Linked DNA regions of Homo sapiens: regions 2, 3, 4, 5 and 6 are each linked to region 1. Evidence: promoter capture Hi-C in human tissues and cell types (Jung and others, 2019). All regions are on one chromosome and are shown on one strand. Each heading gives the region's core, a stretch centred on a gene start or on the middle of the fragment in contact. The rest is flanking DNA. Distances are from core to core; before and after follow the strand shown. Region 1 holds the start of DSCR4 (Down syndrome critical region 4). Region 2 has its middle 73 kb from the start of KCNJ6. Region 3 has its middle 23 kb from the start of LINC01423. Region 4 has its middle 40 kb from the start of KCNJ6. Region 5 overlaps KCNJ6 (potassium inwardly rectifying channel subfamily J member 6). Region 6 has its middle 57 kb from the start of KCNJ6.

Region 1 (3,001 bases), core at 37-2,536:
GTTACAAAACCAAAGCAAAGACTGGCTCGTTTCAGAATAATCAACGTTTCAGGTTTAATATGAAATAATCGTAAATTTGTTTATACCTAATAACATAGCCATAAAATAAAAATTGACAGATAAACAATCATGTTAAGAGCCTGTATAAGCCAGATTTCTCCAGAAAAACAGAATCAAAAGGATATATACATTAAGAATTATATTAAGAAATTTATTTTAGCATATTGGCTTACATGATTGTGGGGCTGGCAAGTCCAGAATCCGTAGGAGAAGCTGGCAGGCTGAAACTCAGGCAGGAAACGATGTTGCAGACTTTAGGCAGAATTTTTTCTTCTCTAGGAAAATTCAGTTTTTGCTCTTAAGGCTTCTGATTGTATAAGGCCCATTCACAGTATGAAAAGTAAGATTTATGTAAAGCCAACTGATTGTAGATGTTAACTACATCTACAAAATACCTTTGCAGCACTACCTAGATTAGTGTTTGATTAAATAAATGGGCAGTAAAGGCCGGGTGCAGTGGCTCACGCCTGTAATCCCAGCACTTTGGGAGGCCGAGGCAGGAAGATCACTTGAGGTCAGGAGTTCAAGACCAGCCTGGCCAACATGGTGAAACCCCATCCGTACTAAAAATACAAAAATTAGCCTGGCTTGGTGGCGGGCACCTGTAATCCCAGCTACTTGGGAGGCTGAAGCAGGAGAATCACTTGAACCCAGGAGGTTGTAGTGAACCGAGATCGCGCCACTGCATTCCAGTCTGGGTGACAAGAGCAAAACTCTGTCTCACCACAAAAAAAAAAAAAAAAAAAAAAAAAAAAAGGCACTAAAGCCTGGCCCCCATGATGACACAGGAAACTAATCGTCATGGAGACTTTATCCACACTTTTGAATATATGTTACATTTCAACATTAAAACACACACACACACACAAAATCATAAAGCAATCAACAAAATTAAGCTGAATGCTTCGTAATTGCTGGATTCCCTGGGAAGCTGACTCTGAGATGGAGATTAGCGTGCAGGACATTTCTTACGGGTTGTTCTTGGGATCAATACCTGTGGAGAGGAGAAGCTGAGGCAGGATCAGGAAGCGGGGAAGTAGAGTGCAATGCTGGTGAAGCGGCATCACTGTCTGGGGTAAATATCCGGGGTTCATCATCTCTCGTCAAGATGATTAACGACATGGACACACATGGGTGAGTTAAGAAGCGGAAAGTTTAATAGGCGGAAGAAAAGAGTGAGGAGACCAGCTCTCAGACATCCTTAAGGGAAAGGCTGGCCCGTGACTGACGGCAGCAGGTTTTACGGGCAGGCTTGAGGAGGCGGTGTCTGATTTACGTGGAGCCCAGAGATTGGTTCGACCAGGGGTGACGTTTACGTAGCGCGCAGGGAAGGCTGGTCACCCCACCCTAATCTTGTTATGCAAATAGGCTTCCCACTTGGCAGGGGCCGTCTTGTCCACTCGTTTCTGTAAACATGGGTGGCAAAAAGAGAAGATGGAGCTGCCATTTAGAACATGCCTAATCCCAGGTAGTGTTTTTTGTTGTTGTTGTTGCTGCTGTTGTCGCTTTTTGAGTCGGAGTTTCGCTCTTGTTGCCCAGGCTGGAGTGCAATGGCGCCATCTTGGCTCACCACAGCCTCCGCCTCCTAAGTTCAGGCGATTCTCCTGCCTCAGCCTCCTGAGTAGCTGGGATTACAGGCGTGAGCCACAGCGCCGGCCCCAGGTAGTATATTTTTATTGGCACAACTGCCGGTATTTGCCTGTGCAAGCTTTCAGCTTGCTTGTCTGTGTCTGCAGCTCGATTTTCCAGGTTGCTTTTTGTTAGAAAAGAAAATGATTTGGGGGCTGCTTTTCATTAAAAGGAAGACCTTACTGAGGACTCCCATACCTTCACTATCTGCCTAAGTACTTTCTTCTTAACTCCTATATCACTGGGTCAGCAGCAACCCCAGTCAAACCTCAAGGGAGACGGGAAGATGGGACGATCTGTCAGAGGTATGCTGAGTTGAGGCAAGAGAGCTGACCTTTATGGATTGCCAATCAGTGACTCATTGGAAGTGGGGCAACCTGGAAGGAAATGTGGCCTTAGGTGAGGCAGCTGTCTTCAGAGGAGGCAATTTCTTTGTATCTGGAGGGGCAATTGTTAGTGTTCCCCTGGACTGAAGGGTGAATTATGGAGAATGGAATAGAACGATTTGTTACTATGATTTGGTTGATGACTTATTTCCTGTTTCCTTAGCTTCATCTTGCTGAGCAAAAATGAAGGAGCCTGGACCCAACTTTGTTACTGTGAGAAAGGGTCTTCATTCATTCAAGATGGCATTTGTTAAGCACCTACTGTGAGTAGATGATCTCCTGTCAAAGACAGTTAACAAATCCTCGGAATATTGCTTCATGTACAGTTATTGGAGATGAGTAACTTACATTCTCTTAATTGTAATGGTTCCTTGGAAAGTCATCGTGGAAAATGAAGGCTGGCTCATACATTTTCCCAGACAGGAATTTGGCTGCCAACAGGGAATTCTAAACAACTAAAAACTCCAGATGATGAATGCACAACATAATGATGGTTAAATTAAAAAAAAAAAAGAGCACGGTAATAAAATTTCCATGAAATATTTTGTGTAAGCGCAGATAATCAGTCATTTTCTTTATAGAATTCTTATTCGTAAATAATTTAGAATACTTTGTTCTTTATAATATATGATGGGCAACTATAGTATGATTCTTCTGAGTGACTCAGTTCTTTTTTTTTTTTCACATTTAATGACTTTGTTTCTCCTAAGTGAATGCACAGATAGTATATTAATCAGGGTTCTCTGGAAAAACCAGAACCAATTTATTATCAGGTACTGGTTCATGTGATTGTGGAGGCTGAGAAGCCCCATGATCTGCTCTCTGCAAGCTGGAGACCCAGGAAAGCTGATGAAAGTCAAAGGCCTAAGAGCTGGAGGGCCGATGGTATAGATTGCAGCCCAGGTCTAAAGGCCTGAGAACCAGAA
Region 2 (2,949 bases), core at 410-2,909, 130 kb before region 1:
CTCTTTGGTATCTTTATTGGTTTGCTAGGGCTGCCATAACAAAATACCACAGACTGGGTAGCCTCAACGACAGATGTGTATTTTCTCAGGCTGGAGGCTGGGAGTCTGAGATCAAGATGTCATCAGAATTGATTTCCCCTGAGGCCTCTCTCCTCTTGGCTTGTAGATGGACACTTTCTTTTGGTGTCCTCACAGGGTCTTTCCTCTGTGCATATCTGTCTGTGTCCTAATCTCCTCTTTTTTTTTTTTGACAGAGTCTAGCTCTGTTGCCCAGGCTAGAGTGCAATGGCACAATCTCGGCTCACTGCAGCCTCCGCCTACTGGGTTCAAGCGATTCTCCTGCTTCAGCCTCCCGAGTAGCTGGGATTACAGGTGCCTGCCACCACACCTGGCTAATTTTTTGTATTTTTAGTAGAGATGGGTTTCACCATGTTGGCCAGGCTGGTCTCAAACTCCTGACCTCATGATCTGCTCACCTTGGCCACCCAAAATGCTGGGATTACAGGCATGAGCCACAGTACCCGGCTGCTAATCTCCTCTTCTTATAAGGACACTAGACAGATTGGTTTATAGCCCACCCTTATTGTTAGGCCTCTGAGCCCAAGCCTGCATGTATATATTCAGATGGCCTGAGCCAACTGAAGAACCACAAAAGAAGTGAAAATGGCTCATTCCTGCCTTAACTGATGGCATTACCTTGTGAAACTCCTTCTCCTGGACAATGAGTCTCAGAAGCTCCCCCACTGAGCACCTTGTGACCCCTGCCCTTGCCCGCCAGAGAACAACCCCCTCTGACTGTAATTTTGTACTACTTACCCAAATCCTATAAAACTGCCCCACCCCCATCTCCCTTTGCTGACTCTCTTTTCGGACTCAGCCCGCCTGCACCCAGGTGGTTAAAAAGCTTTATTGCTCACACCAAGCCTGTTTGGTGGTCTCTTCACATGGATGGGCGTGACACTTATGACCTCATTTCACCTTAATCACCTTGTTAAAGGTTCTATCTCCAAATACAGTCACATGCTGAGCTTCTGAAGGTTAGGACATCAACATTTTGGGCATAATTTAGCCCATTGCAACATTCCCTCTGGGAATGCAACTTCACCAGTGCAATACAGATTGATGTGAAGACAGACGAGCCTCTGGAAATGTCTGAAAAGATAGATGCAGAATTGGCCTCCAGACGCTACCAAAGTCTTCCTTAGACAATGAATCAAGGATGGCCCATGCCCATTCCCTAGAATTTTAATCAATGGAGACAGAGCCAGTGCCAGTTTCCACAAAGACCCAAGGAGAGGCAATGGAAACTTGGAATTCAAGTTTTCCTCCAGGGTATTTCCGAGGTGGGTTAGTGGTCCAGAAGTTAGGAAGACCGTCACTCTCTCATGGTGGATGGAGTTCTCACAAGGAAATGTAGACAGAACACAGGACCAAGACAGGGGCCAACCCTGTGCTCCAGCACTTGTGCAGAGTCATGGAGTTGAGGCACCAGCCATTCAAGAGGCCATGGACAGAAACAACCAGACTACCAGAAAGTGGGGGAGCAAAAATACTCTAGTGAGACATGGTATTATATGCTGAAAATACAACCAAATAGAGTGTGGTTGTATTTGGAGATGGGACCTCTAAGGAAGTAATTAAGGTTAAGTGAGGTCATTGGGGTGGAGTCCTGATCCAATAGGAGTAGCGTATTTTTAAAAAATATGCCAGATCTCTTTCTCTTTCCATGTGCACACATTGGGGAGAGGTCTTGTGAGGACACAGCAAGAAGGTGGCTCTCTGCAAGCCACAAAGACAGCCCTCATCAGGAACCAAATTGGTCGGCACCTGGACCTTGGACTTCCCAGCCACCAGAACTGTGAGAGATAATGTCCATTGTTCAGGCCACGTCGTGTGTGGTACTTTGTTATGGCAGCAGGAGCAAACTAAAACACACGGTGAGAGAACAACCCCACTGATACCTGGGGAGGCTCACTGAGGAGTCCAGGTCAGCAGGCCTGGACCCTTGACCCTGGCAAGCCATGCCTCCCTCTCTGCAGTTAATAAGAAACTTCACTTTGCTTGATTAACAGGTAATTCTGGTGGTTTTTCTGGAGAGATGGCTGTTGATACACTCCAAAATTAGCTTCCAATGAAAAACTAAAGCCTCGAATCGCTTCTTGACTCTATTTTCTACCTGTACACTTTGGCAGAGTATGAGAAATCATGTAGGAAATATCAGAAATGCCAAGTACCTCTCCTCTTGGCTTCTTTGGCTCTGTTGCTGCAGACAGAGCAAAGGGCATCAGTTCATGCCATCAGGTGCCCCCTGATATCCTTAGACTTTCTGCATGTCCTACTCTTAGCCCCTCAGCATTTATGCCTAGCACTGAAGTACTCAGCAGGTGGAGGCACCTGTTAGCACATGCTTACCATGGTTTGAGGGCAAGTCTGCTCTGCGAGAAGGTTTGGCCTGCCTGGGTCCCTGAGAGCTAATCTCAGAAAGTGAGGGTTAGCCAAATGGAGGCAGGGCAAAGCCCACTTTTTGTTTCCTTTGCTGTTCTCAGTGGCCTCAGAGGAGGTGTGAGTCTGCTAGCCATTGTGCACTCCCCTGACTCACCTCTGAGTTCCGGCCCCCTGTGACCTAGGACCCTCCTTAAGTCACAAACTGTCTTGGACATCCACTTTCAGTGATGTTTTTCACAGAGATCAAATGATTTATTAATTCCATTAGCACTCATTAATTTAAAAGAGAAAGAGGAAGGAAGGAAGGAAGGAGAAAGAAAAGAAAAAGAAAGAAGAAAGGAAGGAGAACAAGAAGATTCTCCCGTAATTTTATATGAATTAGGATGCTTTTTGGCTGTAGATAAAAAATCCAACTAAATGTGGTTTCAACAAGTAAGGATATTTACTATCTCTGGTAGGAGAAGTTTGAAGAAAAGCGGTTCAGTGGATCAGAGATGCTTATAA
Region 3 (3,068 bases), core at 40-2,539, 200 kb after region 1:
AACTAAACTGGAGTCACAACAACTCGGATATAAATCCACCCTGAGGCAGGGGACTGGACCCATTGAGCTGCCAGAGCCCTTATATATCTATAAGTTGACTTCAGAGAGTTTCAAATCCGATAGGACTTTGCAAGTACCATATCGAAGATAAAGAAGCTGATCCAAGGGAACGTTGGCCAAGCCCACTTCGCAGTTGAGAACAACATGGCTTAAAAACAGCCTGCACAGCTTCCTGGACGTCCCATCACATTTGCCAAATAGCATTTTGGTGAGCTGAGAATCAATGAATGAGAAACAGATGGATTTAATGTCCCTTGAAATTAGGGATGGGTGAGCCCAGCCACACTGTGGAATTGCTGAATGTCTCAAACTATTTTTTTCAAGTATCTTTGGTTCAGAAAAACCAAAACCATGGTTTTGCAAAGCACGTTTCCTCTCATTCATATGAGGGTTCGTGTATTTTAACGGAAATTTGATCTGCATATTTCAACTTCTTTACACTTCACTTATCAAAATGCTAAATAAAATTTCCAGGAAGTCTGAGAAATATTTATAACTTTTTTTTCCAAACTATTTTATTTAGGAAAGGAAACAATGGGGAAGTTTGGAAAATCCTACAAAAGAGAAGGTGGGTTCAGGTGGAAGTTCACACTTTTAGGGAGTTCTATGTCCCAGAATTACGCACATGTTAGGTGTGCAGTCACAATGTGCTCAACGAGTATATTTGAAAATCTCTTGAAAAGTGAGGGGAAAGGTGGGAAAGTTCAATAAGGACAAGCTTGAGGAAAGGCTGAAAAATACAACATAATTTAAAATAGCTTCTCATCTCTAATAGCCAGGCAGTGTATTCCTAGCAGCCATAAATCTAATGACGCAGAACTATAGCATTCTTGTATCATCCACCAGCATGAACTCCACCATTCTTCAGATGTCTTTTCTCTTTATAAGACTTGTGATAAAGGTGCTTATAGGATGCTCATGAGTGGAGGGATGGCAAGAGGAGAGGGTGGAAGAAATGCACCACAGAGGGTGGGTGGGAGCAGGCGGTGGAGTGAGTGCCCAGCGCCATCTTTGTTTTAGAGAATGACTCTGACCACAGACTTATGTGTGAGCCCTGAAGAGCTGTTTCTACTTAAAGCTTAGCTTTCGGTTCCAGAGGACCAAGTAAGACACAAGCGGGAGAGACGCAGTCATCCCATCTCTCAGGGAGCTCAGTCTGTTTGTATTGTGCTGGAAGCACAGTGCTTGCTCATCACCGACAGGCAGACTTCTGCTCATAGTGTCATTGGCAGAGAGTGCAGCAATGGACACTGCCCAAAAGGAGAGAAGAAGGAAAAGGCAACTCCTTGTGGTATCTGATTACGTTTGTCTCAAATGCCCAGGAGACATTCCCTGGGGATTCCCAGAAAAGCAATTTAAGATGGGGATTTGACAGGGAGCAATAATAATTATTGATACAATCTGAAGAATAATGTTTATTACGATGAATATGCTTCTCATTTAAATCCCCAGGCTGGTGCAGGAAGCACAAACATGGATTACATATCTCTTTAAAGCCATGTATTTTCTGGCTTTTAAATTAGAAAACCCAAGTAGGGTTGTGTGGCAGTGACAATAGGAGTTGTCAAATATTCCTGGGACTCCCCCACATTTCCCAGCAGCCTTCCAGGTAGTTAGGTTGGTGGCAGTGATTGATCTGGGCCAACAGGGTGTGGGCATGAATGATGTGTGGCATTTTCTGACCAAGATAGTCAATTCTTCCATTCCTCCCTCCCCTCCTCAGAGATCTTGGTCTACAATTTGCCCAGATGTTTTAGCTAAACTGGACTTCTCACAAAGGAGAACTGAGCTTTTACTCTGTAAAACCACTGTGATTTGGCGGGGGCGAGGGTGGGGGGTCTTGTTTGTTACAGTGGCTAGTGTTAACTAGCCTGATTAACACAAGCGTTAACTAGACTAATACAGGTTGTAAACTTACAACCTGTCATTATGATACCCTGATAGTAATAAAGCTGGTGGTTTGGGGTAAGATTCTCAGAAGTTTTTGAGAATATAGTAGTGCCTTATATTAGTAATCTACTGCTATATTAAAAACTACCTTAAGAGGTAGTAGTTTAAAACAACAAGCATTTATTATCTCAAAGTTTTTGACGGTCAGGAATTTTGGAGTGGCTTAGGTAGGTGGCTCTGACTCAAAGTGTTTCATGAAGTGCAGTCAAAATGCTGGCAGGAGCTGCAGTTATCCAAAGGCTTGATTGGGGCTGGAGAATGCATTGCTCATATAGGAGCCCTCAATTTATTGCTGGTTTCTGGCTGGAGTTCTCATTTCCTCATCAGATGCTCCTCTTTGTAACGATTCTCAGGCAAGGGAAGCTAGCATCATTCAGACAGAGTAATCCAAGAGAGAAAGCAAACAGGAAACCACAGAATCTTTTATTGCCTAGTATCTCATGTTGCTTCCTCCCCCACCTATTCATTAACAGTAAGTCACTCAGTCTAGCCACACTCAAGAAGAGGAGAATAGGTTACAGCTTTTCAAGAGGGTTTCAAAGAATTTGTGAACAGATTTTAAACTACCCCAGAGTGGGTACACCCCATTACCCCAGAGTGGGTTTGTAGGTAGCTAAGGGGGTAGAATGGTGGGTGGCACCTAAGGTGGGGGGTTCAGTGACCCAACATAAATCAGGCTAATAGAGTGTAATGGTGTGACTGCTCCTATCTTACATTATTCCTTAATCGCAACAGCGGATGAAGGGAACCCAGCCAATTCTATTCAAGCAGCCTGGACTGGGCCCCTGACAAGCATCTGCATATGGAGATGCCAAGGTAATTTGAGATGGGGATTTTCTACAGGGAGCACAGAGAAATTCCTGGTTGCTTACCTCTGTGCATAGACATGATGCAGAGGAAATGAACTCTCATGAAACAGGACATTGTGCCGTAACCAGGCTTGCCCTGGCTGTATAGGGAGGTGAGTTCCGGCATTGTCCTCTGACATAGCCCCCTCCTCCCAACCTCCCAGCTTGCCTGGCGCTACATAGTGTGCTAATTGCTGATAGAAACCCTGG
Region 4 (3,156 bases), core at 249-2,748, 160 kb before region 1:
CAGTCCCCAAACTTTTTGGCACTGGGGACCAGTTTCCTGGAAGACAGTTTTATCACAGGGGGAGGGAGGATGGTTTCAGGATGATTCAAGCACATTCCATTGATTGTGCACTTTATTTCTATTATTACTGCATTATAATATATAATAAAATAATTACACAACTCACCATAATGTAGAATCAGTGAGAGCCCTGAGCTTGTTTTCCTGAAACTAGATGGTCCCATCTGGGGGGTGATGAGGGACAGTGACAGATCATCGGGCATAGATTCTCATAAGAAGCACACAGCCTAGATCTCTTGCGTGAGCAGTTTGCAATAGGGTTCCCGTTCCTATGAGAATCTAATGCTTCTGCTGATCTGATAGGAGGCAGAGCTCAGATGGTCATATAAGTGAATACAGATAAAGCTTTGCTCACTCAACCCGCCACTCACCTCCTGCTCTGTAGTACAGTTCCTAACAGGCCATGGTCCATAGCCTGGGGGCTGGGGACCCCTGGTCTAAAACATGGGGAGATAAAAGCATGAAGGCTGCCTTACACACCTTCACTAGTCTGTGCTCACACTCAACACGTGTGGGACTAAAGGAGTGTCCCTACTAGATTTTTGACTGTTTCCCTGGTTGCTCTGGGGAAGAGGGGTTGGGGAGGATGCTGGCATGACCTTGCAATTCTTGCTATGGGAGGAATACACTGGTACAACAACTATGTATTTTTTTTCTTTCTTTCCCAAATCATCTCAGAAAAATGTCTTGTTTTTTTTTTTCTCCCTTACCTGATGCGGTGGTCCTAGAACCAGAGGTGCAACTGCAAGTTCTGGAAGCAGGAATGATTTCTAAGCAAGAAACTGTCACTGTGTTTTTAAACTTTGTCAGAATTCCTAACAATTCTGGGGGTGGACCGTGTCTTTATCTCGTCTGGCAAAAGTGGGGTTAGGACTAAATACAATGCACATACACGTGCATGTATCTTTATAATAGAATGATTTCTGTTCCTTTGGGTATACACCCAGTAATGGGATTGCTGGGTCAAATGGTATTTCTGCCTCTAGGTCTTTAAGGAATCACCACACTGTCTTCCACCATGGCTGAGGCAGGAACAGAAGACCAACACTGCGTCTTCTCGCTTACAAGTGGGAGCTGAATGATGAGAACACATGGACGCATGGGGTTGGGGGAACAACACACACTGGCGGCTGTTAGGGGTGGGGTGTGGGGAGGGAGAGCATCAGGAACAATAGCTAATGGATGCTGGGCTTAATACCTAGGTGATGGGTTGATCTGTGCGGCAAACCACCACGGCACACGTTTACCTATGTAACACACCTGCACGTCCTGCACATGTACCCCTGAACTTAAAAATAAAACTTGAAGAAAATAAAAGAATAAATACAACTATATTTCCTGGTGGTAGAAGTGGCTCACTAGTTTGGAATCTGTGTAACCCTGTCTTGAATGAATGGGAACAGACTGAGGTAGAGGCACTCACTAGGCTGATATTGCTACCAGCGATCTGGACCAGCACAATGGCTGAAGTTAATGTCCCTTTCAAAGGTGGAAAAGTTTGGGTAAAAGTAAATGACAAATGGAAAAAAAAGAAAGAATAATAGCTGAGGGTAAGAAATGAATAAATGTGTTATAGATTGAGGGAAATCCAGTAGTAAATTAACAACCCTTTTAAAGAGTCTCAGAGCAAGAGATGACGTCATTGGCCAGCTCAGTTATTCCAGGTGCCTGAAAGGGCGAAGCTGTATATTTACCGAGACCCCTCCTGCTTTTGGGAACTGACAAGTTCCCTGAAGCACCCACGGAGGGCATGGAGGCTCCGTGCCCCTGCCCCCATACCTCGCCCTACACGTCTGTATCCTTTGCAATATCCTTTATAATCAACTAGTATACGTTTAAAAACAAAAATAGAACTGACCACAGGCTGCAGGTCTCCCATGGAATTCTTGGTGCAGGCTTGGGTATCTCTGCCTGGTAGAACTGCCAGATGAAATACAGAGACCAAGTTATGTTTGAATTTTAGATGAATAATTCTTTTTTGTATAAGTATGTCTCATGCAATATTTGGGACATACACTAAATTTTTCTTTGTTGATATCTGAAATTTAAATGTAACTGATCTCCCCTTTTATTTGATAAATCTGGCAACTCTACTGCCTGGACAGCAGTGGCCCTTTGAGCAGAAGGAATTGACTCCTGGTAGTAGAGGAAGGACTCTGGTCCCCAATGTAAACCTATCTGTTTGCTTTCAGGATGCGGGTTCAGAAACCTTTATTGCTGCCTGTAAAGACTCAGCATGGCCAGGGACTTGCAGAAGGACTCTCACCTGGCTCCATGTTGATAAATTTCAGCCACATGTAATGAAATAGAGAGAAATGGAAAAGAACAGGGTGGTTAAGGGACCTGTTAAAAGTGACTACAATTTGGCCCACACCAGTTGAAAAACAAAAGCAAAGAAACAAGCTGCTTTGTTCCAGAACACAAACAAAAAAAACAAAAAACCAAAATACCACGAACTAAACAAAGCCACAGACACATTTCACCAGAAGTGTATTTATTTATCCCTCTAAAATGTCTTTCTTAATATATGGCTGGATGTTCTGTTTTATAAATCTGTAATTACAAGTAACTGGTGTTACAATGATTATAAATTTGCAATATATTTATTTGGGAATTAAATGGCATTAATTGGAGGGTGGAATAGTGACTACGACTTAATTAACCTGAGACTATGGGCTCTGGTTAAAAATCCACCACTACCAGGTAAGTGTGTGTTCCAGGAACAGTGTAGCTTCCACATTTAAAGGCTGTAAATTATTGATGGCAGTAGTCAGTGCTTCTGACAAGCAGTAAACTGGGAGACTGAGTGCTGGAAAGTTGGAACACATTTGATCCGTGTAGGTGGAAATGTGCAGGGTAAAAATAGAGTCGTGGCAAATGCTTTTCCAGATCCATAAGACCTCCAGGGAGCAAGATCATTTGCCAGCTCTCTCCACCTCTGCTAGTATCCATTCTCCATCTCTTCCCTTCAGACCTCCGCCCTGTGTCCACACTCTGGTCATCAGCTCTCTTCTCTGGTCAAAAGAAGTCCGGATGGGACGAAAGAAAACAGGCTGGAGAGTGAAATGGGCATCTGAGCAGAAGGTGGAGTTGAAA
Region 5 (3,208 bases), core at 134-2,633, 230 kb before region 1:
TGGGGAGTGCATCACATCGGTACAATTCAGGAGAACACTGCCTCTGACTCTGCCCGCCTCCCCCGCATCCAAGCAAGCAGCCAACAAACAAAACAAGCCCCAGTGAAGCTGTAGCCTACTGTGGGTTTCCAAAAACCTTTACAGAATCGAATCTGGCAAGATGGCACATGGGGGCAACCTTAATAAAAATCTTTCCTGTAAAATATTGCGCATTGAAAGTCAGGTTATAAATTCTGGAAATTTCTCCCTAAAGTTAAACACAAGGGATCCTGAGGGTTTACTCTGATCTCCTGAATCTAACTGTACGATGCTCACCTACCTATCTCAGAAAGGTGAGTGACAGAAGGACTGGGAAGCAGGGAAGGCATAGGGGACGGGCTTTCCTCCTTGCTTTCATAGGATACTTTCACAGGTGGGCCTCTCAGCTGTGTGCTGGATGGATGAAAGGTGAGCAGGTTTTGCAAAGGCAGGTTAGGGGAACCACACACAGACACACACAGGCAAAGACACACACACAGAGACAGGTACAGACACACATAAACATGCACACATAGACACAGAGACAGATACGAACACAGACACGCATAGACAAACACACAGGCACACATGCACGGACACAGGCATGTACACTCTGCACTGTACACGATGTCATTTTAGGTGTAGTGAGAATAATTTTATATAGAGATCAAAATTTTGCCTCATATCTATGAATGGTTCCGACTAGCTAGAAAACCATGGATGATTAAGCACTGCTTAGAAATGTGTCCCTAAAATCTACAAAGTTAAAAAAATCCCTTAATATGTATTTTAATTTGTGTAACAGGGGATTTATGAATTGAGTACTTGTAGGCTGTTTGGGTGAGAACATTTCCAGGCTTTCTTAGACCCAGCTGAACCTAGGGGGCCCAGGTTGCAAGTGTTTGAACTACCAGATACCAAGCCCTCTCAGTGACCCCCTCATATATAAATTTTAAAGGCTTGAATATCCAAGTGCCAAAGTCGATCATTTGAGATAAGGGCCTCAGCTCTGCATTTCACTCTTTCTTCTTGCAGCTGCTGTTCCTGTTGGAGGTAGCAAGGACATTGGTGCTGATGCTGGCGGCAGTTGTGGTGGTGCTGGGCTGGGTGTGGGTTGATGGTCTCAAGTGTGGGATGGGGAAGGGGTGTGGGATGGTGGGGGTGGAGACACGCATCACATGACTCTCAGATGATTCTTGGCAATAAGAAGACAAAGATTTTCATGTTGGGAGCTTAAACACTGAAGAATTTGCAGGTATCTTTTTAAAGCATTCTTGTGATTCTTCTTTAAATCAATGGTTCTCAACCCTGGCTGCCTGCTACAACCATGTGGGAGCTTTTGAAACATACCAGTGCAGAGACTGTTCCCCATTGTAATTCTGATTTAATCAGTCTAGGGTTTTAGAGTGAGGAGCTCTTCAGGAGATGCAAATGTGCAGACAGGGCGTTGAATCATTTCAGGTCAAATGGGGCATCCCAATACAGCAGTAAGAGTGAGAGGGAGCCCTGGGCACAGCCATTTCTTCTGCAGGAACAGCACTGATGTGGTCCTGGCTGATCGTAAAGTCACCTACCTCAGTTTTTAATAGTTATTACAAAATATTTCAAGCATTCAGGAAATTATATGGAATTTCTATGCTCTGACCTCCAGGTTTAATGACTGTTAGTATCTGGCTATATTTCTTGTTTATTAGTTTAGAAAATACAGCTGTAAAAAAATCTGGTGGCTCTGACTGGGTTGGGAAATTTGGGATACCTTTGGGCAAAATGTATTGAGAAGACAGGCTGCTCACTTAGGTCCCTGCTGGGTCATTTGCACTTTAGTATAAGTGAGGCAACAGGGTGAAGGCAATGGTAGAGACTTAAGGTTGGGCAAAGATGGGGAGGCAAGTTGGGAAAAGGGGTGCAGAATGGGCATAGGGCTTAGGATGTCTATGGCAACCCCAGGTTGTCCACTGTTGACCCTGGCAATGAGGTAAAATCTTTTCACTGAGGAGTTTTTAAGAAGAAATCACTATACAGGAGAGTGAGAAGTCCCAGTTTTAGCATTCTTTGTCCCCATATGGCTTCTTTCATAGTTTTTTTTTTTTTTTTGAGATGGAGTCTTGCTCTGTCACCCAGGCTGGAATGCAGTGGTGTGATCTCGGCTCAGTGCAAGCTCCACCTCCCGGGTTCACACTGTTCTCCTGCCTCAGCCTCCCGAGTAGCTGGGACTACAGGCGCCCGCCACCCAGGCCAGCTAATTTTTTTTGTATTTTTAGTAGAGACGGGGTTTCACCATGTTAGCCAGGATGGTCTCGATCTCCTAACCTTGTGATCCGCCTGCCTTGGCCTCCCAAAGTGCTGGGATTACAGCCTTGAGCCACCGCACCCGGCCGGTTTCTTTCATAGTCTTATGTTACATTCCTGGGTACCCTTTTGAATGTTCCCCTATTTTTTTCTTTTTTTGGAGATGGAGTCTCACGCCATCTCCCAGGCTGGAGTACAGTGGTGTGATCGCGGATCACTGCAATCTCTGCCACCTGTGTCCAAGCAATTCTCCTGCCTCAGCCTCCCAAGTAGCTGGGATTACAGGCACCTGCCACCGTGCCCAGCTAATTTTTGTATTTTTAGTACAGATGGGGTTTCACTATCTTGGCCAGGCTGGTCTTGAACTCCTGACCTTGTGATCCACCTGCCTTGGCCTCCCAAAGTGCTGGGATTACAGGTGTGAGCCACCGTGCCCAGCCTGTTCCCCCTATTTTCTAGGGAAATGTTGACTTCTTTGGTCCATACCTTCTTGCAACAGCACTCGGCTCCAGCACTGTGTGTATAAATGGCAGCCTGTGCCCTCTCTCACCTACGGCTGGAGAAGCCTTTTTTTTTTTTTTTCCTCTGCCTTTCCTTATTTGGAGTTGATGCTTTTTGACATTTCTGTCCAACAAATACTACCTTGGGTTCTGGATTATATTCTACGGAAGCAGCTGACATTTCTTTGATCCTTCCATTTGAAAATATTTATTTTAAAAAGATTGAGAAAGGTAGAATTGACTTCTAAAATACTTCAATAAATAACCACTTTCAAGTTGCCATGATTCACTTTGGCAGAGAGATGCTATAGACAGATAACCCAGAGCAATGTCAAAAATAGACACAAACGAACCCTGCTCAATTCTGGCCTCTTCCTTTCTCTTTCTTTTCACTGATTCTA
Region 6 (3,167 bases), core at 132-2,631, 150 kb before region 1:
AAGGCTCACTGCAGAGCCTTCTCTGTCCTACGAGATGCTCTGTAGTATTAAAGAAAAACCTCAGCACCTTTGCCTTAAGCATCATTGAAGTGTTACATGCTTTTCGTGTATCAGAGCATGTAAATTACCTTCCAGGGAAAGGACTCATATCTCAGGGTCACTTCAGTACAACAGTGACAATTTGCTGATTACAGCAGTTTCCCCGAAGAAAGAGGGAAGCCATCACTATTTGTGTAGCAAAGATTAGAAAGCTTGAGAATCATAAAGGCAATTCGGCCCAGGATCTCCTGGCATGCCATGTCAGCTTATTTATTAGTCAGGGTCCTCCGGGAAGCATGTGTTGAGATGGGATTAAACTTGCCTGCATTTTGTTAGGAGAAACTATCACATGAGGGAAGATAAAGAGGGAACCAGGGAAGGCCAGGAGGGCCATTAAGCCTTGATGCAAATCTGACTCCATGTCAAGAGAGAAGGAGGGGAGGCTGAGAGAAGGCACGTTGGACTGCCTGCTGCAGTCTCTGGAGGGTCCTCAGGGTGTTGGGGGCCCCTGTGTCTGCCTTAGTGACCTAAAACAGTCATTCGCTGGGAGCAGCCCTGGGGATGCAAGTCCTCCTGCAAATGCAGCTATGATGGATTTCAAAGCACCACATCTTGAGCCCTCAGTGGGTGGTGTTCTCTGTAGTTGGAGTCTGCCAGGTGTGTTCCAGAGGCTGCCACAGTGCACTTTTCTTAAACTAGAGAATGTTCCTCCATTAAATACCTGCTTTGTGCCAGACAATGGCTATATTCTGGCATCACGGAGGGCGGCCAGAGGGAAATGAGAGGAGACCCTGTGCTCTGCAATGCAGAGGCGTCTCCCTGAGCAGCCTCCCTCTATGGACGGGCATTTCACAGACTTCTCCACCAGGAAGCAGCAGGGTGATAGTGCCCAGGTCCACAGGCCACAAAGCCCATTGGTATTGTCAGGTCCTGTGCTTCACTGCATATGGGTCAAGACCACAGATGGTGGCGGCTACCTCCAGCTCCCATCACTCAGGACATGGCAGGCCCTTGCCCTTTCCCCTCCACAGCGTCGTTCTCATCTTCCTTTGACAAGGCACCTGCAGGTATTCTCTCTCCTGTTCCCCTGCCAAGCTTGCAACAGGCGGGGATGGACTCTCACACCTCTGTGTAGTGAAAATGAGAATTCCCATTTGTCATTCTGATTTTGTCCAATGGCCTTTCTAGTGTCTCCTGGTCTCTCCTCTGCTTAGTGAGGGGTCCTCATGCTTCTTGAGAGATGGCAGCTAATGTGGGTGCCCGAGTCAGGCTGCTAACTGTTGGCTGCATGATTTATTTGGGGTAAGTTATCTAAGTTCTCTGTGCCTCAATCCCTTATTTGTAAGAAAGATAACAATGTCTGTTGCTAACACTTACGACTGTTTTGAGGATTAAATGTGATAATACAAGCAAGCTTTTAGCATAGTGCTCAATAAATAGCAGTTATTATTAGATTGAACCCCACAGAATTACCATTTTTCTAAGTCAAGAAATTTAAATTTTGGCAGTTTCATGAGGTTTAACCAAAAACTATGGGTGGGCAAAACTTTTTGGTTTGGAAACCTCCTTACCCTCTGTGGGGTACTTGGTAGAGCAGCTGAGGTGAGCCACTTTTGCCTTCCTATCAGGACCTGGCACGTCACCCTCCCAAACTGGAAGAGAAGGCAGGTAGCTATTAGGTGGGAACAAAGACGTTGGTTCCATCACACCTGTGTTCACCTCTTCTTCATACCAATCAGTGTTCACAAGGGTGACCTTGGCCTGAAGACAGCCTCCTTGAGTGTGTGCTCGACCCATGAGAGGAGAAGGCCCTCTCCCTATTCACAGACCAAAATAAGCCACATCAGGATGGCTACTTCCATGTTAGAAATCACCATTGATCCATGTATTTGTCTGGGTTCTCCAGAGAAAAATAATCAATAGGATATATATATACACACACACATATAAAGAGACACATGCACACATATATGTATATACACACACACACACAAACACACATACAAAGAGAACGCGAGAAAGAAAGATATTTATACAGAGGCATTGACTCACGTGATTGTGGAGGCTGAGACATTTTGTAATCTGCCCTCCGCAGGCCAGAGGCCCAGGGAGGCCAGTGATGTAAGTTCCAATCCAAGCCCAAAGGCCTGAGAACCAGGGAGCCAGTGCTGTGATTCCCACCAATCAGGTCTGAAAACTAGAAAGGTCAATGGTGCAAGACCTGGTCTGGGTCTGAGGGCAGGGGACTTATGTCCTAGCTCAAGCAGTTAGACAGAGAAAGGGAGAGAGAGAATCCCCCTTTCCTCCACTTTTTTGTGCTATCCAGGCCTGCAGCAGATGGGATAATGCTGACCCACATTGAAGAGGGCCATCTGCTTCACTCAGCTCATGAATTCAAATGCTAATTTCTTCCAGAGACACCCTCACAGACACACCTAGAAATAATGTTTAGCCAGATATCTGGGCATCTCGTGACCCAGTCAAATTGATATATAACTAACCACCACAGTCCAGGTAGACTTACCTAAGGTGAGTTTGATTTAGTTAAGAGCCTATCTTTGTGCCTTCTGGGAGACCATGGGAACCCTTCAACGCTGGCTATGGAGAGAGGTGCTCCTTCTGCTACCAGGCTCAGGTAGGTACAGCGCAGGCCCTACAAAGTGAGGGAGGAGCGGTCCTGAAACGGTGGCCTGAGATCCCCATTCTCACCTCTGCTGAGTTGCCTCATGTCACAGGTACTCCTCGAGGTCAAGACATTTACCACCCACAGCCACTGTTAAACCACTAATATGCGGTGATTCATGTTTTTACGTAGGTGACAGTTTAGTGTTATGGGGAAAAGCATTGGATTTGGAGTGTGGAATTAGTCATTCCTGACCTGGCTGGGTGGCTGTGTGTAAGCATTTTCTCTCCCTGGAGCCTCATCCATAGCAAGAGGGTTTTGCAGCAAAGTTAAGATGGCAAATACGTCTTCTCTCCCAAACCATCCCTGACCAGTAAACATCAACTCCCTGGAGACTGGAAGGCCCTGGACAGCACCATCTTCTCCAGAAAAGCCAGTGATGTAGGTACCAATCCAAGCTCAAAGACTTAAGAACCAGGGAGCCAGTGCTGTAATTCCCAGCATA

The links. Contacts are between HindIII fragments. The study calls those that stand out against the background at their distance.
Region 2: a fragment that was not itself captured here is called in contact with the fragment with the promoter of DSCR4 in region 1 in 3 of the 25 tissues and cell types used here (H1 embryonic stem cells, aorta and mesendoderm cells).
Region 3: a fragment that was not itself captured here is called in contact with the fragment with the promoter of DSCR4 in region 1 in 2 of the 25 tissues and cell types used here (dorsolateral prefrontal cortex and spleen).
Region 4: a contact is called between a fragment that was not itself captured here and the fragment with the promoter of DSCR4 in region 1, in 4 of the 25 tissues and cell types used here (adrenal gland, aorta, lymphoblastoid cells and 1 more).
Region 5: a fragment that was not itself captured here is called in contact with the fragment with the promoter of DSCR4 in region 1 in 1 of the 25 tissues and cell types used here (mesendoderm cells).
Region 6: a contact is called between a fragment that was not itself captured here and the fragment with the promoter of DSCR4 in region 1, in 4 of the 25 tissues and cell types used here (H1 embryonic stem cells, dorsolateral prefrontal cortex, mesenchymal stem cells and 1 more).

The regions. Positions count from the first base shown.
Region 1 is chr21:38,120,074-38,123,074 of GRCh38, forward strand. DSCR4 (Down syndrome critical region 4) reads right to left here and starts at 1,287. Exons shown (of 3, transcript NR_147130.1): 1 at 1,055-1,287; 2 at 234-335. DSCR8 (Down syndrome critical region 8) reads left to right here and starts at 1,378. Exons shown (of 3, transcript NR_026842.1): 1 at 1,378-1,528; 2 at 2,239-2,338. The HindIII fragment of the contact is 7,375 bases long and covers 1-2,870 here.
Region 2 is chr21:37,987,695-37,990,643 of GRCh38, forward strand. No RefSeq gene overlaps it. Among named protein-coding and RNA genes, the nearest start is that of KCNJ6, 73 kb to the left of the region's middle. The HindIII fragment of the contact is 8,084 bases long and covers 1-2,949 here.
Region 3 is chr21:38,321,526-38,324,593 of GRCh38, forward strand. No RefSeq gene overlaps it. Among named protein-coding and RNA genes, the nearest start is that of LINC01423, 23 kb to the right of the region's middle. The HindIII fragment of the contact is 3,414 bases long and covers 1-2,996 here.
Region 4 is chr21:37,955,277-37,958,432 of GRCh38, forward strand. No RefSeq gene overlaps it. Among named protein-coding and RNA genes, the nearest start is that of KCNJ6, 40 kb to the left of the region's middle. The HindIII fragment of the contact is 3,856 bases long and covers 1-3,156 here.
Region 5 is chr21:37,890,759-37,893,966 of GRCh38, forward strand. All of the region lies in intron 1 of KCNJ6 (potassium inwardly rectifying channel subfamily J member 6), which reads right to left. Among named protein-coding and RNA genes, the nearest start is that of KCNJ6, 24 kb to the right of the region's middle. The HindIII fragment of the contact is 3,972 bases long and covers 1-3,208 here.
Region 6 is chr21:37,971,396-37,974,562 of GRCh38, forward strand. No RefSeq gene overlaps it. Among named protein-coding and RNA genes, the nearest start is that of KCNJ6, 57 kb to the left of the region's middle. RefSeq lists an enhancer at 1,884-3,083. The HindIII fragment of the contact is 3,866 bases long and covers 1-3,167 here.